Regions from separate parts of the Homo sapiens genome. Here all the other regions are linked to region 1. Evidence: promoter capture Hi-C in human tissues and cell types (Jung and others, 2019). All regions are on one chromosome and are shown on one strand. The core of a region is centred on a gene start or on the middle of the fragment in contact, and the rest is flanking DNA. Distances in the headings are between cores, read along the strand shown.

Evidence for each region. Contacts are between HindIII fragments. The study calls those that stand out against the background at their distance.
Region 2: a contact is called between a fragment that was not itself captured here and the fragment with the promoter of VCL in region 1, in 1 of the 25 tissues and cell types used here (dorsolateral prefrontal cortex).
Region 3: a contact is called between a fragment that was not itself captured here and the fragment with the promoter of VCL in region 1, in 1 of the 25 tissues and cell types used here (lymphoblastoid cells).

What each region holds. Positions count from the first base shown.
Region 1 is chr10:73,995,301-73,999,597 of GRCh38, forward strand. VCL (vinculin) reads left to right here and starts at 2,816. Exons shown (of 22, transcript NM_014000.3): 1 at 2,816-3,075. The coding sequence starts at 2,908. RefSeq lists silencers at 2,425-2,784, 3,115-3,164 and enhancers at 2,845-3,044, 3,117-3,768. The HindIII fragment of the contact is 15,261 bases long and covers 1-4,297 here.
Region 2 is chr10:75,001,675-75,006,097 of GRCh38, forward strand. The region is part of intron 13 of KAT6B (lysine acetyltransferase 6B); the gene reads left to right. Among named protein-coding and RNA genes, the nearest start is that of SNORD172, 18 kb to the right of the region's middle. The HindIII fragment of the contact is 3,250 bases long and covers 1,425-4,423 here.
Region 3 is chr10:75,059,016-75,063,588 of GRCh38, forward strand. All of the region lies in intron 1 of DUSP29 (dual specificity phosphatase 29), which reads right to left. Among named protein-coding and RNA genes, the nearest start is that of DUSP29, 12 kb to the right of the region's middle. The HindIII fragment of the contact is 5,414 bases long and covers 191-4,573 here.

The DNA.
Region 1 (4,297 bases), core at 1,566-4,065:
ACTCTACCAGGAATTTCTGGAGACTGTGAATATGTCAGTTTGTGACTGCTCTAATAATGATAATGGTTTCTTTTACTGAAGGTCTCCTAGGTGCTTTACAAATTCCCTTACATCAGCTCTGTGACGGTGCTATTATCCCACTTGCCGGAGTTATATCTCCATCAAGTTGTGAAGCTGGGGTTCTGGCTTGAGCTCTGGATGGCTCTGAATTTATGCTGTTTGCACTGTTTAACCTGCCTGTCTGTGGGTCTAAGGTGGGGAAGCTGAAGGCAGTAAGGTTGGTCTGGACCCAGATTGTGGAGGGCATTGGTGTTAACACATGCTAACAGGCACCAAGAAAGATTTTAGAGGGAGCCAGTGAATGTGGAAATCAGGGGGACGGAAATGGGTATGATTATGGATGTTGGGGAGCACATGGGCTGGATGTGCAATGTGATATTCTTTTTGGGAGGTTAATATGGCCAGTCAGGCATTAAAGATGATTACATGATCAAGCCTCTGAGTCTTCCTGCCAATCTGTAGGAAATATATAGTTCAGAAGAACAAGTTAAACTACACATAAATATACAATCAGCAAAGTGGGGACAGGGTGAGGATTTAACAAAATCATACACTTTTTGGGAGGCTATATATACTTTGGGAGGCCATTTATACTTTGGGAGGCCAAGGCAGGTGGATTTCTTGAGTCCAGGAGTTTGAGATCAGCCTGGACAACATGGCGAAACCTTGTCTCTATCAAAAATACAAAAATTAGCCGGGCGTGGTGGCATGCACCTGTGGTCCCAGCTACTTGGGATGCTGAGGTGGGAGAATCACCTGAGCCTGGGGAGGTCAAGGCTGCAGTGAGCCGAAATCACACCACTGCACTCCAGCCTGGACAATCGGAGTGAGACCCTATCTCAAAAAATAAAAACATAAATAAAAATAAATAAAATAAAATAATTTTTAAAATAAAAAAATCATATCGTTCCATCACTCAACTTTTTTTTTTTTGGACAGGGAGTCTCACTCTGTTGCTCAGGCTAGAGTGCAATGGCACGGTATCAGCTCACTGCAACCTCCACCTCCCAGGTTCAAGCAAGTCTCCTGTCTCAGCCTCCCGATTAGCTGGGATTACAGGCACCTGCCACCACACCTGGCTAATTTTTGTATTTTTAGTTGAGACGGGGTTTCACCAGGTTGGCCAGGCTGGTCTTGAACCCCTGACCTCAGGTGATCTGCCTGCCTCAGCCTCCCAAAATGCTGGGATTACAGGCGTGAGCCACCGTGCCTGGCCCCATCACCCAAATATTTATACTATTAACACAAAGTAATGGGCAGAGAAAACAGCTGTGGTGGTTGTGGTAGGACTAGACAAAAATTTTCATTTGATGTGAGAATCTTTTGCTTGGAGGCATTACTGAAAGTGTTTACCTCAGAATGGGAAAGCTTGGGCAAAAGCGAATTTGAAGTAAGTAAGACGTTTGGAAGATGTCTTTTTTTTTTTTTTTTTTTTTTTGAGACAGAGTCTTGCTCTGTCGCCCAGGATGGAGTGTAGTGGCGCGATCTCCGCTCACTGCAAGCTCCGCCTCCCGGGTTCACGCCATTGTCCTGCCTCAGCCTCATGAGTAACTGGGACTACAGGCGCCCGCCACCACGCCTGGCTATTTTTTTTGTATTTTTAGTAGATACGGGGTTTCACCGTGTTAGACAGGATGGCCTAGATCTCCTGACCTCGTGATCCGCCCGCCTCAGCCTCCCAAAGTGCTGGGATTACAGGCGTGAGCCATCGCGCCCGGCCTGGAAGATGTCTTATACAAAGCGTGAGGGAACTGGATAATTTGGTCTTACCTATCAAAATATAAAATGCATATACTTTTGCGTTTTTCTCTTTCCTGGTAGGCATTTGCGCTAGATAAATACACAGATGCACAGCACAGGGGTAAGTACAATTCATGCAGAATTGTTTTTTAATAGTGAAAACCAGGACCCAACCCAAGTCCATGAGTAGGAAATTGGTTCTGTAAATAGTTTTATTTCATGCAATGGAATATCATGCAGTCATTAAGAAGAATGAGGTAGACCTCTACCAGCAGTGAAAGATAAGGGCATTTTAATCAAGGGCAATCATACCTAGTTCCAGGAAAATGTTTATTAATCTCATTTAGTTAGAAAATATATATGTAGAAGTGAATCTATAGACAAGTCTAGAAGGCTACACACCCAGCTGTTAAACAGAATGTCTTTGAGGAGGGCAGGGGGCGGAGTCTGCGTTTACGTGAATGGGACGCTGCTGTTTCTCAGTGCACCTCTGCTGTTTGAATCTTTTACTAAAAACCTTCCCATGCATTGCTGGGAGGGAATGGAAGGAGTATTTTGAGGGTTTCGTGTGAAGGGAAAAGTTGAGGAGGGGACGTGGGAGACCCCTTGGTCTCATCAAACTCTAGCGCCGCTTGAGGTGAGGAGACCCCGCCCCGCTGAGGTGATTCTGCAGAGGGGCGGAGCCCCCCAGATCCGAGGCGGGAGGCGGCCCGGGGGCGGGACCAGCCGGCTCCAGCGGCCCGCTCCGCTCCCACCATGCCCTTATAAGGAGCGCCCGGCGTTAGGGCTCGGGAATCCGGTAGCAATCCCGGCGGCTCAGCCCCAATCCCAGGCCCCTCCCTTAGGAATGGGGGAGGGGCGGGGTTTGGCGGCGCGGTGGCTGGGGCGGAGCATCTCGAAAAGGGACCAGTAGGAGTGGCGGCCCAGGTCTGAGCTGCGCTGCCATTGGGCGCGGCGACGAGAGGGGGCGGGGAGCCCGTGAGGCTGGTTACGCCGAGGGAAGCCCCGACTCCGTAGTCGCTGCACAGTCTGTCTCTTCGCCGGTTCCCGGCCCCGTGGATCCTACTTCTCTGTCGCCCGCGGTTCGCCGCCCCGCTCGCCGCCGCGATGCCAGTGTTTCATACGCGCACGATCGAGAGCATCCTGGAGCCGGTGGCACAGCAGATCTCCCACCTGGTGATAATGCACGAGGAGGGCGAGGTGGACGGCAAAGCCATTCCTGACCTCACCGCGCCCGTGGCCGCCGTGCAGGCGGCCGTCAGCAACCTCGTCCGGGTGAGCGCGCAGGGCCTGGCGCGGGAGCGGGCGCGGGAGGTATCCCCGGGGCCCCGGCCCGCGTCGCGGCTGCCTGTGGCCGGCTCGCTGGCCGTGGCTTTCCGCGTGGGTTCCGGAGCCAGGCGCCGAGGGTTCGAATGGCCTCTTCTCCGCCCTGTGACCTTGAGCGAGTCCTGAGCCTCTCCGGGCCTCAGTGTCCTCATCTATAAAATGGGAGCAGTCATGAAAAAGGCTGCCTTGCGGGCTTGTCGTGAAGATATGGCGAGGTATTATTCGTGGAGTGCCTCGCGCGGCGTGTGGCCCACAGCAGACACCCAATAAATGAGAGTTGCTGGGATGTCCGAGGGTCCCTGCCCCGCGCAGGCTTCGCCCCCACGTTGACTTCCTCGCTCTCAGCGCCTTTTAGGCCTCCTCGATCTGGCTGTGCGGGGGAGGGAGAGCGGGCCTTCCCACGGATCCCTTGCCTTCTCTTCTAGGGATCCTTATTTGAGCCACGTTGTCCTCCTTTCTAATACTTCTGCCCCTCACCCTGAGACCCGCCTCGCCCACCCCCGCTCCCCAGAGCTCCCTGTATTCCGCCCTTTTATTCACTTGCCTCACTCTCTGTCGCCTCCTCCTCCCTCCTGGGCATTTTACTTATGCTCACTCCTCTGGCACTCTCACACCTTTATGCAGTCATTCGTGACCACAAGCCCGGTTTTTCCTTCCGCTCAGCCCTGCTGCCCTTCCTTTCATTCCCTCCTGTGGACATTTTCACCTGGCGTTACCTGCTGTCAAACGGCCTCCTCCCACTGGGGCCTTTCTAGACTCGGGGGCCCTCCTTGGCCCCTCCTCCTGGCAGGAAGCAAGATGGAGCTGTTGGGAGAGGCCTGTGGAATCTGGGATCTGCCGCCCCTGCCGGAGAGAAGGCTGGGGCATCCGCTCCCCATCCACAACTTTCCTGGTGGCTCTGCAGACCCCTGTAACCCACAGCTGTGACTCATAACCGAGGTGATTCCTGGAGGAGGTGGAGCCCACGTCTGAAATGGGAAAAAAGAGGTGCTGAGACCAGTCTCCCAAGACTCCCCTGGCTAATGTCACACTTTTCTTTCCCACCCTGGGTGGGTGACTCAGACTGGTCCTGCTTGTGAGGAACAATTTTGGAAAAAGTTCATACTGCTCCCCCACTGAGCTGTGTAAATAGTGTGTGTCAGGGCAGTTGGGCGGCAACTGTGGGTCTGTC
Region 2 (4,423 bases), core at 1,800-4,299, 1.0 Mb after region 1:
TACAATTTAAGTGAAACTTAAGAGTGTTTTTAAGTAGAGACTAAGTGGTTTCATCCTACCTGAAAATTGCCTTCTTGAAATAAATGTTTGATACCCACTGGCCTATCTCCTCTGGAAAACAGGAGTTTTCATTTAGAAGTCCAGTTGGTTGGATTCCAGTAAGCCGTTTCACCTGACTGTATTACGCCCCCTGGAACCAGGGCTGTGCAGGAGCCACCGGCTTCTCCCAGAGGGCAGGGTGAGCACAGTATCAGGGCACATGGCTTACCCTCAGGAGCTGCATCCCAGCCTCAAGGCCCTGGTGAGAAACTGTGCTCTCCAGCAAGGGTCTCTGGCCGTCTCTGCACCGTGTGGTCAGCTTAGGGCTGTGCCTCCCAAGACAGGACCTGAGGATGGGTATGGGTAGCAGAGATATTGCTCCCTTTGCTCCTGGGTGTCCAGAGCTCCAGTGCCTGTCACCTCACCTCTAGCAGCCTCAGGAGCTGTGTAAATTCTGTCATATACATGATGAGGGAGATCATGAAGCACTCACTTGAATCATAAAGTCTGTCTGGGGGAGGCTGCAGAGTAAATATTCCACTTTCCCCACTTACAGGCCCCACAAACAAGCCTCAGAAATGTGTTTGGAGGGACCATGACAGCATCTCTTAGGGACTTGTGTTATTTAGTTTTCTCTCTCTCTCTCTTTTTAGTGGCACTAACCAAAAAAAAAAAACAACAACAAACTAGGCTAAGCAAGTGCAGAGTCATTTATAAACTTGCATAGGTCTTTTATATACAGTCATTTATCATTTAAAAACTGAGATTCATTTTGAGAAATGCACCATTAGGCAACTTCATTGTCGTGTGAACATCATAGTGTATGTACTTAGACAGACCTAAGTCGAAGTCTATAGGTTACTACACACCTAGGCTATGTGGCATAGCTGATTGCTCCTAGGTGACCAACCTGGACAGCAGTTACTGTACTGGATACCGTAGGTGTTAGTGGTTGTAACATAATGGTATTTTTGTATCTAAACATATCTAAATATAGAAAAGGTACAGTAAAAATATGCTGTTATAATCTTATGGGACTACCATTGAATATGTGGTCCATCGTTGACCTAAACATCATTATGTGGTGCATGACTGTATTTATTGTTGATTGCCCATGTCTTTCACCAAAAGTAAGCTTCATGAGAGTGTGGACTTTGCTCTTTGCTGCATTCTGATCTTCTAGAAGAGCCTGGCGCTTAGTAGGTTCTTATTAATTGTTGAACAAATGTTAAATTAATTATGACGGGAAGAACTTTTAAAATGTGCTTTCCCTTCTAGTGTGTGATTCTTAGGGACAATTTTATTTTATTAGAACATAAACCATCAGCACTGGTTTACTTACTTCCAAATGATGCTAGGTATGCCCTGTCTTCTTTCGAGGTCTGGTACTTTTGCTGAAATGCAGCCTCTATCTTAAGATCATTTCAGTTGCATCAGAAAGAAGATGTCACTGCCTGCTCTAAACCTTGGGCGGAGAAAGCAGAGCTGTGACATAATCCACATTTGTACATAGCAGGTTGAAGAGACACTTAAATCTTTTGCTTACTTTTTCTCTTATCAGATAATTCATTTCTTGATTGCATTTATTTTTGAAAGGAAAATACCAGCTTTAGCCATAAGAAGCTGTCAAGAAAGCTTCTCTTTGCTTAGCCTTCCCAGCAGCTACGCTCCTGGGTGAGTGCAGTCAAGGCAATCATTAAAGAATAATAAGTTATGCTTTTGAAATGGTGCTCAAGTACTTCATAGCCTTTTCTAAGATAAGGAGCCTCCCACCTTTGCCCCCATGACACTTGTTGGAAAATACTGGACCAGCAGCTATATCCTTGGGCTTTTGCTGGGTTTTGGAAGACACATTTTGACCTATGTAATCAAGTATAATGATGACATTTATTTTAATAGGATTCTAGTCTGTAATATAATAAGGAAAATGGCTATTTTTCCTTATTTTCTCATTATAATATGTTACACTAAAAGCTTCTGCCATTACTGTTTTATTATATTGGTCTGAGGTACAATATATTTTAATATGCTAAAGATAACATCAAGGTTGAAAATTGAGCTCTCAGTGATTTATTCAGAGGTTGACTGTTGCTGAATGCATTGAAATGAGTTGCATGAGACAGTGCGGCTAACGATTTATTTGTGTATCTTTTTTTAAGCTAAGCTTGTCATAAATAAGAGCAAATAAATAGCTCTTATAGAATAGTTTGTATTCATTGCCTCAATGAAAACATTGTAAATATGAAACATACGGTCTGCAGTCTCTCTCATTTTTTCTGAAAGCTAGTGTTTTGCCTTACATAGCTCAGAATTTTTTCAAGTTTTGGCATGCAGGTGGTTGGTTTTTTTTTTTTACCAAACAAATTTTTTGTCTGTTTGGATTTCTAACGTTGACTGGCATTTGCATTGAGTTATTTTGAAATCCACTACTGGACAAATTCCATTCAAATAATTGGTATGAGAATAACCTAATCTTCAGCAGAACTGGAACAAAATGAAACCTTAGTGGGACCATCAAGAGGGCAGGAACTTGGTCATTGCTAAACTCCAAGCCATGAGCACAGTGCCTAGCACATAGAGGATACAGAATAAAGGATTGTTGGGGGAAATCAATGAATGCCTGAGTCTAGTTAATCCACTTCTTTGTATGACTGTCAACACCTGCCAGATGCATCCAGCTAGCTTTTGACCAGTAGTGCTTAAACTCAGATCTCCTCTCAGTCTTTGTTTTTTACACTTTATTTATCCCTTCATCCCATCCTTCAGCAAACATGCTTTAAATACACTGTGCCAGGGATGGTCTAGGTGATGAGGACATAAGGATGAATGATTTAGTCCTTGCCCATAGGGAAGTAGAGGGTCAGACACAAAATTCTTCCCAGTCCTGCAATTTCAAATTTCAGAGAGGCTGTGGCAGTGCAGAGGAGGAAATGCTTCCAACTCTATTTTCCATTTACCCAGTTAAGATATATAGAAGAGACGCATTTTTCCTTGCTTTTCTTTTTAAAGACTGGGTCTCACTCTGTCACCCAGGCTGGAGTACAGTGGCGTGATCATAGCTCACTGCAGCATTGAATTCCTGAGCTAAAGTGATCCTCCCATGTCAGCCTCCCAAGTAGCTGGGATTACAGGCACATGCCACCATTCCTGGCCATTTTTCAGGGGGAGGGGTGGGGGGTCAGCTAGAGACAGGCTCTTGCTTTGTTGCCCAGGCTGGTTTCCAACTCCTGGCTTCAAGTTATGCTCCTGCCTCGGCCTCCCAAGGCACTGGGATTACAGGTGTGAGCCACTATGCCCTGAGCTGTTGTTAAAACAAGATCAAGAAAGATTTTGCTCTGCTTGGTTGAAATTAGTGCTATACCTCATTTGGGTTTCAAGAGAACTATTCCCCCTTGAACATATATTCCAGCTTGTAATAGAGACATTATGTTTGAGATAGAATATTCTAAGATAAAAGTTTGCTTCCACTTACCCCTCTCATGATGGCATTTCGTTTTTTTGTTCTTTTTTTTTTTTTCTTTTGAGACCGAGTCTTGCTCTGTTGCCCAGGCTGAAGTGCAGTGGCACGATCTCAGCTCACTGCAGCCTCTGCCTCCCGGGTTCAAGCAGTTCTCCTGCCTCAGTCTCCTGAGTAGCTGGGATCACAGGCACGTGCCACCATGCCCGGGTAATTTTTGTATTTTTAGTAGAGACAGGGTTTTGCCATGTTGCCCAGGCTGGTCTCAAACTCCTGAATACAAGCGATCCACCCACCTCAGCCTCCCAAAGTGCTGGGATTACAGGCATGAGCCACCACGCCTGGCCCTAAACAACACAACTATAACTTCAGCTGGTTGTAAGGTAGTTTTTTGGTTGGTTGGTTGGTTGGTTGTTGGTTTTTTGTTTGTTTGTTTTTAAATATAATTTCATATTGGGTAAAACAAAAGGTTTTCCTTAACTTGTTTAGAATTGTTTAGGAAAATACTAGTTAGGAATCTGATTTTTTTTCTCCCCCATGGATTTGTGGTTAGCATGTTTGTACTCTAATATTCATGCTACATTTTCATGTTTACCAATATAAAAACCTTTTTTGTAATTATTTATATGGAGTCCTGCTTTGAGTTAACATCATAGAGGAACGCTTTTTTTCAGCAAAATTGTTTTAAATTAATGTTTCTAAAGTGTATAAAAATGGTTGGGTGGATTAAAAGCAATTCAGTTTCACATGAACCATTTGTCCACATGGAAATAAATATGCAGCACAATTACACGGCAGAAGGTACGAAAAGGTGTTGCTGAAATCATGAGAAAATGTAATACAGGCGGACGTCAGTCTCCACAATAAATTTGCATATGTCCTTTTTTGGGGGCAAATACAGTCATCATTTTAAATGAAGTCGAAGAG
Region 3 (4,573 bases), core at 1,648-4,147, 1.1 Mb after region 1:
ACATCGCCAAGGCCATACCTGCCCGGGCCTGGGTCTGGGCCACACGCACATCAGCAGGACTTCAGAAGCCTTGAGAGGGGAGGAAACCTGGCTGCATGAGGGTTAACCTGTCAGAAGAGCTGAAGGCAATGCTCACACTCTCACACTGGGAGCCTGGCCATCACTGTGTTAACTTACCAAGGGGATTGGAAGAGATGCCCCAAGATAGAAAGCTGTGCCTCGAGACTGAAATGTGCATTTGGAGAGCTTGTTAGGCTCTGCCAGTGGAATGTGGGAGAGGACTTTCCATTGTCCCCAAGGAGAGGAATTTGCAGTGGAATTGGACATTGATTGTTTCCTGAGCTGAGTAAATGATGCACCTATGGTCAGCCTGGGAAAGGAGACTGGAGAGAAGGAGGAAAAGGTGGGAAGACTGAGAACCATGGAGGTGAATGCTATTTGTTTATTTATTTGACAAATACTTATATAACACCTATTGTGTGCCAGACACTATTCCAAGTGCTTGATGATTGTAAGCCCATTTAATCTTAACAACACTGAGATAGGGTTATCCTAATACCCTATCATTAGCCCCATTTTACAGATAAGGAGGATCATGAATTGAGGCTGTCTGTAGCACAGGGTCTTAGTGTCAGGGGGAGGGAGATGGGAGGTGCAGTGTGAGGAGGGGCAGGCCGGGGATGCAGAGAATGTAGGAAAGGGTTCATGGCTTCAAAGACCATTAGGAACATGTCAAAGGGACTCAGAATACAACTTGAAGAAGCTTCCACTTATCAAAACTGGAACAATTTGAACATGAAAAATAAAAATAATTCCAGTGGATCAAAACACATCAAACACTTAGGTCATAATAATACTGAAGGCCAGGCGCGGTGGCTCATGCCTGTAATCCCAGCACTTTGGGAGGCCGAGGCGGGCAGATCACCTGAGGTCAGGAGTTCAAGACCAGACTGCCTAACATGGCGAAACCCCATCTCTACTAAAAATACAAAAAATTAGCCGGGTGTAGTGGCGGGTGCCTGTAATCCCAGCTACTTGGGAGGCTGAGGCAGGAGAATCGCTTGAACCTAGGAGGCAGAGGTTGCAGTGAGCTGAGATCGCACCACTGCACTCCAGCCTGGGCAACAAGAGTGAAACTCCATCTCAAAATAATAATAATAATACTGAAAACAGTCCGGGAGCAGTGGCTTATGCCTGTAATCCCAGCACTCTGGGAGGCTGAGGTGGGCAGATTGCATGAGCCCAGGAGTTCAAGACCAGCCTGAGCAACATGACAAAACCCATCTCTACAAAAAAATGCAAAAATTAGCTGGGTGTGGTGGTGCATGCCTGTAGTCCCAGCTACTCAGGAGGCTGAGGCTGAGGTGGGAGGACCACTGGAGCCCAGGAGGCTGAGGCTATAGTGAGCCAAGATCATATCACTGCTCTCCTGGGCAACACAGTGAGACCTTATAAAAAAAAAAAAAAAAACCCAAAACTTATTATGCACGGTTGGAAGATGTTTGGGAACCAGCTCCTTATTTTGAAGATGGATAGATAAAGGAGAAGAATCTGCATGTATTGCTTCTCTCTTTTACAAACTATATACTACTGGGTTGATACGGGAAATGTTCTTTTATAGAAGTATTCCAGATAATGAATAAAGAAGGAAGCACCATTTTACACCACCTGATGAGTTGCTGCATCCAGAGACTGAGCATAAACTGCCAGCCACGTATGAATAAGAAGAGATGGTCAGACATCATATGCCTTCGAATAGAAGAGCACACCACCATGGCGGGAATCATCTCACCAAAGAGGTCTATATCTATCAGCCGACTTGCTGGAGATTCCGAGGACAGTTACGTTATACCACAGGGCCTTATCTTTTAGAAAAACATACTGAAATATTTGCTTCAAAAATAATATAGTTGGAAAATATAAATAATATAATGTTGGGGCAAGGTATTGATGTAGGTGTGAATGAGATGGGCTGGCTATGAGTGATGGTGATTGGGGCTGGATGATGGTTATAAGGTAGTTGTTGTTTCTCTTTTTTCCTTTTTTAAAATAGAGATGAGGTCTCGCTATGTTGGCCAAGCTGGTCTCGAACTCCTGAGCTCAAGTGATCCTCCCACCTCAGCTTCCCAAAGTGTTGGGATTACAGGTGTGAGCCATCACACCTGGCCAGTTGCTGTTTCTCTTCAGGTGTGTTTGAAATTCTCCATGATAGAAATTTAAAAGGAAAGGGTTGAGACCACTGCTTTGGGGAATTGGATTCTCCCAAGTCCATAGCAGATGACTTAAAGGATCACTAGCTAGCCATGAGTGTCTGTAGGGATTGTGGGAAGCCAGGGTTTGTGACTTCCTCCAACAACTTCCTGCTTCCTGGTGAAGTGTGGAGAGGGCAATAGGCAGCAAAGGGGACCCTCCTGTGAAGTCTCTCAAAGTGTGGTCTGAAGACCACGTCTGTCAGAGTCACCTGGCACTAACCAAAAATACAGATATCCGGGCTGCACCCTCGTAGGGGCGCAGGCATCTGTATCTCAATGAGCTCCGAAGTGAGTCTGACGCTTAGTAAAGTTTGATAATAATTGTCTGAGATGTGGCTAGAGAGCCAGGGTGCTGCGGAGTCAAGGGAAAGGTAGTGAGGGTGCTCATTCAAAATGCCTCCCGCTGTCCCAGTGGGGTGGGAGGCCCGGTCTTTGGCCCAGAATGCAGCTGCAGGCTGGGAGGAGAGAGGACCTTGCTTCGGGGCTCCTGAGTGTGGCTTCTCTCTGTAGCCTTGGTGTCTGGCACGTAAGAGGTGCTCAGGAGATATGGGTTGGATGAGGAAGTGGCTTAGTGAATGAATGGAATGAGTGAATGAGTGACTGAGGGGTGAAGGAATGATTAAGGGCTGTGAGGCCTGTGCAAGGGGCTCAGCAAGAGCTGCTAAGGCAGGACTGAGCCTCCAGGCTGATTTGGAGGAGGGAGAAGGTGAGGGGACTGCAGGCGCAGGGTGGGCTGCCCTCCCCCACGGGTGGTCATTCAGGCCCAAACTCTATTCTGGGGCCTGCCTGCTGTGTTTCCAGTCAGGAAGGAAGAAATTATTTTAAGGAGTGGCCAGAAATCTTTCTCACAGAAACGAGCCCAGACCTTTCAGTCCCCTAAGAGCATACGTAGTTATAGCCCTCCTTGCTTCAGGCCCACAGTGTCTAAAGGTGTGAAGCTCAGCTCGTCCATGGCACCCACTCTTCTTGTTCGAAGTGAGTAGAAGCTGGGCACCATACACCTAAAGGTGGTTTAGGCCATCTTGAACCCTGCCTGCGGTTAATGGAAGCTTCAGAAGAGGTGATTTTCGGGAGACGCTAGAGTCAATTCCGTTCTGAAACCTCCGTCTGCCTCCTTTGATCACTGAAGCTGACCTCACCCTTGGTGAGGCCATTCTTCCTTCATTACACTGTGGAGGGAACCATCCCCGTCTCCATCTCTGTGCTGAAAGCCTCGGCTGGATTTCCAGACAAAGGAGGAAGTGGTGCGGTCTACCCCGAGGAGCTTGGCACGCAGAGTGAGCCCTGGGATCTATTATCCTCCAGCACGCAGATTTGATGGGGAAAGAGAACAAAGTGTGGAACCGTCCAGAAACCACAGACCTGTAATCTTTCCAAATCCTGAAGGCGGCCTGTGTGCACCCTCTCTGCATGGCTCCCAACTCTCTAATTCTCAGAGAGGCCAGGAGCATCTGTTTCCCAGATCACAGCCAACATGGAAGGGAAGACAAATCTGTTCTGTTTGGTTTCCATAGATTCGACCCAGAGATTAACTGCCAAGGTCTCAATGACACACACAATATCAATCACAGGCTAAATGTCATAATGAGAGCTGGGCAGGCTGTCAAGAGAGGCCCCCAGGTTCCTGTTACAGCTTCATATTTAAAGATTTGGTCCCAGGAAATCAAATGCTGTCTCCGAGACGACTTGGCCTACATGCAATGGCAGCCTGTCTCCTCCTTAAAAGGTGACAAACTCAGGCTCCTTCAGGGAGGGGCCAGGCAGATAACATAGAGGAAGGAAGTAGGTTGGGTGTTAAAAAGTAAACAAACAAAAACCTGGCTGTTGGCCTCAGGCAAGAGACATTAGGGAGTGGTGGGGAGTGTGGCACATCAGGGAGCATATGCCTCCATTAAGGGGGCAGCAGCTTGCTGTCCCATGTGGGAATGCAAGCCCAGATTTTCTGGTATTTTTATGATCCTCATAGATTGTTGTGAGAAATCTATTGATTTTTAAATGTAAGCCCCTGTAATCGATGCTATTCTTGCCCTGTTACAAGGATAGCATCTACTACAGGTGCCTACAGGTGCCTCCTCAGCTCAAGTCACTGCAGCAGAAGTGGACAGTTCTTTATATACATAAAAGCCTTCCTACCTCAGATGCCTGTTTTCCTGCTTGAGGGCATTTTCTAGTCCTTGTGCTGGTCAGGCCTGCAGTATGTGGAGTTAACATCCCCCAGAAGTTGTCACCAATTAGAGGCAGGAGTTGGTGGATAAACATCCCCACTTCCTCAACCCTGAGTGGACCACTTTTGAAATATGTCCTGCACAGTCTCCTGGAGG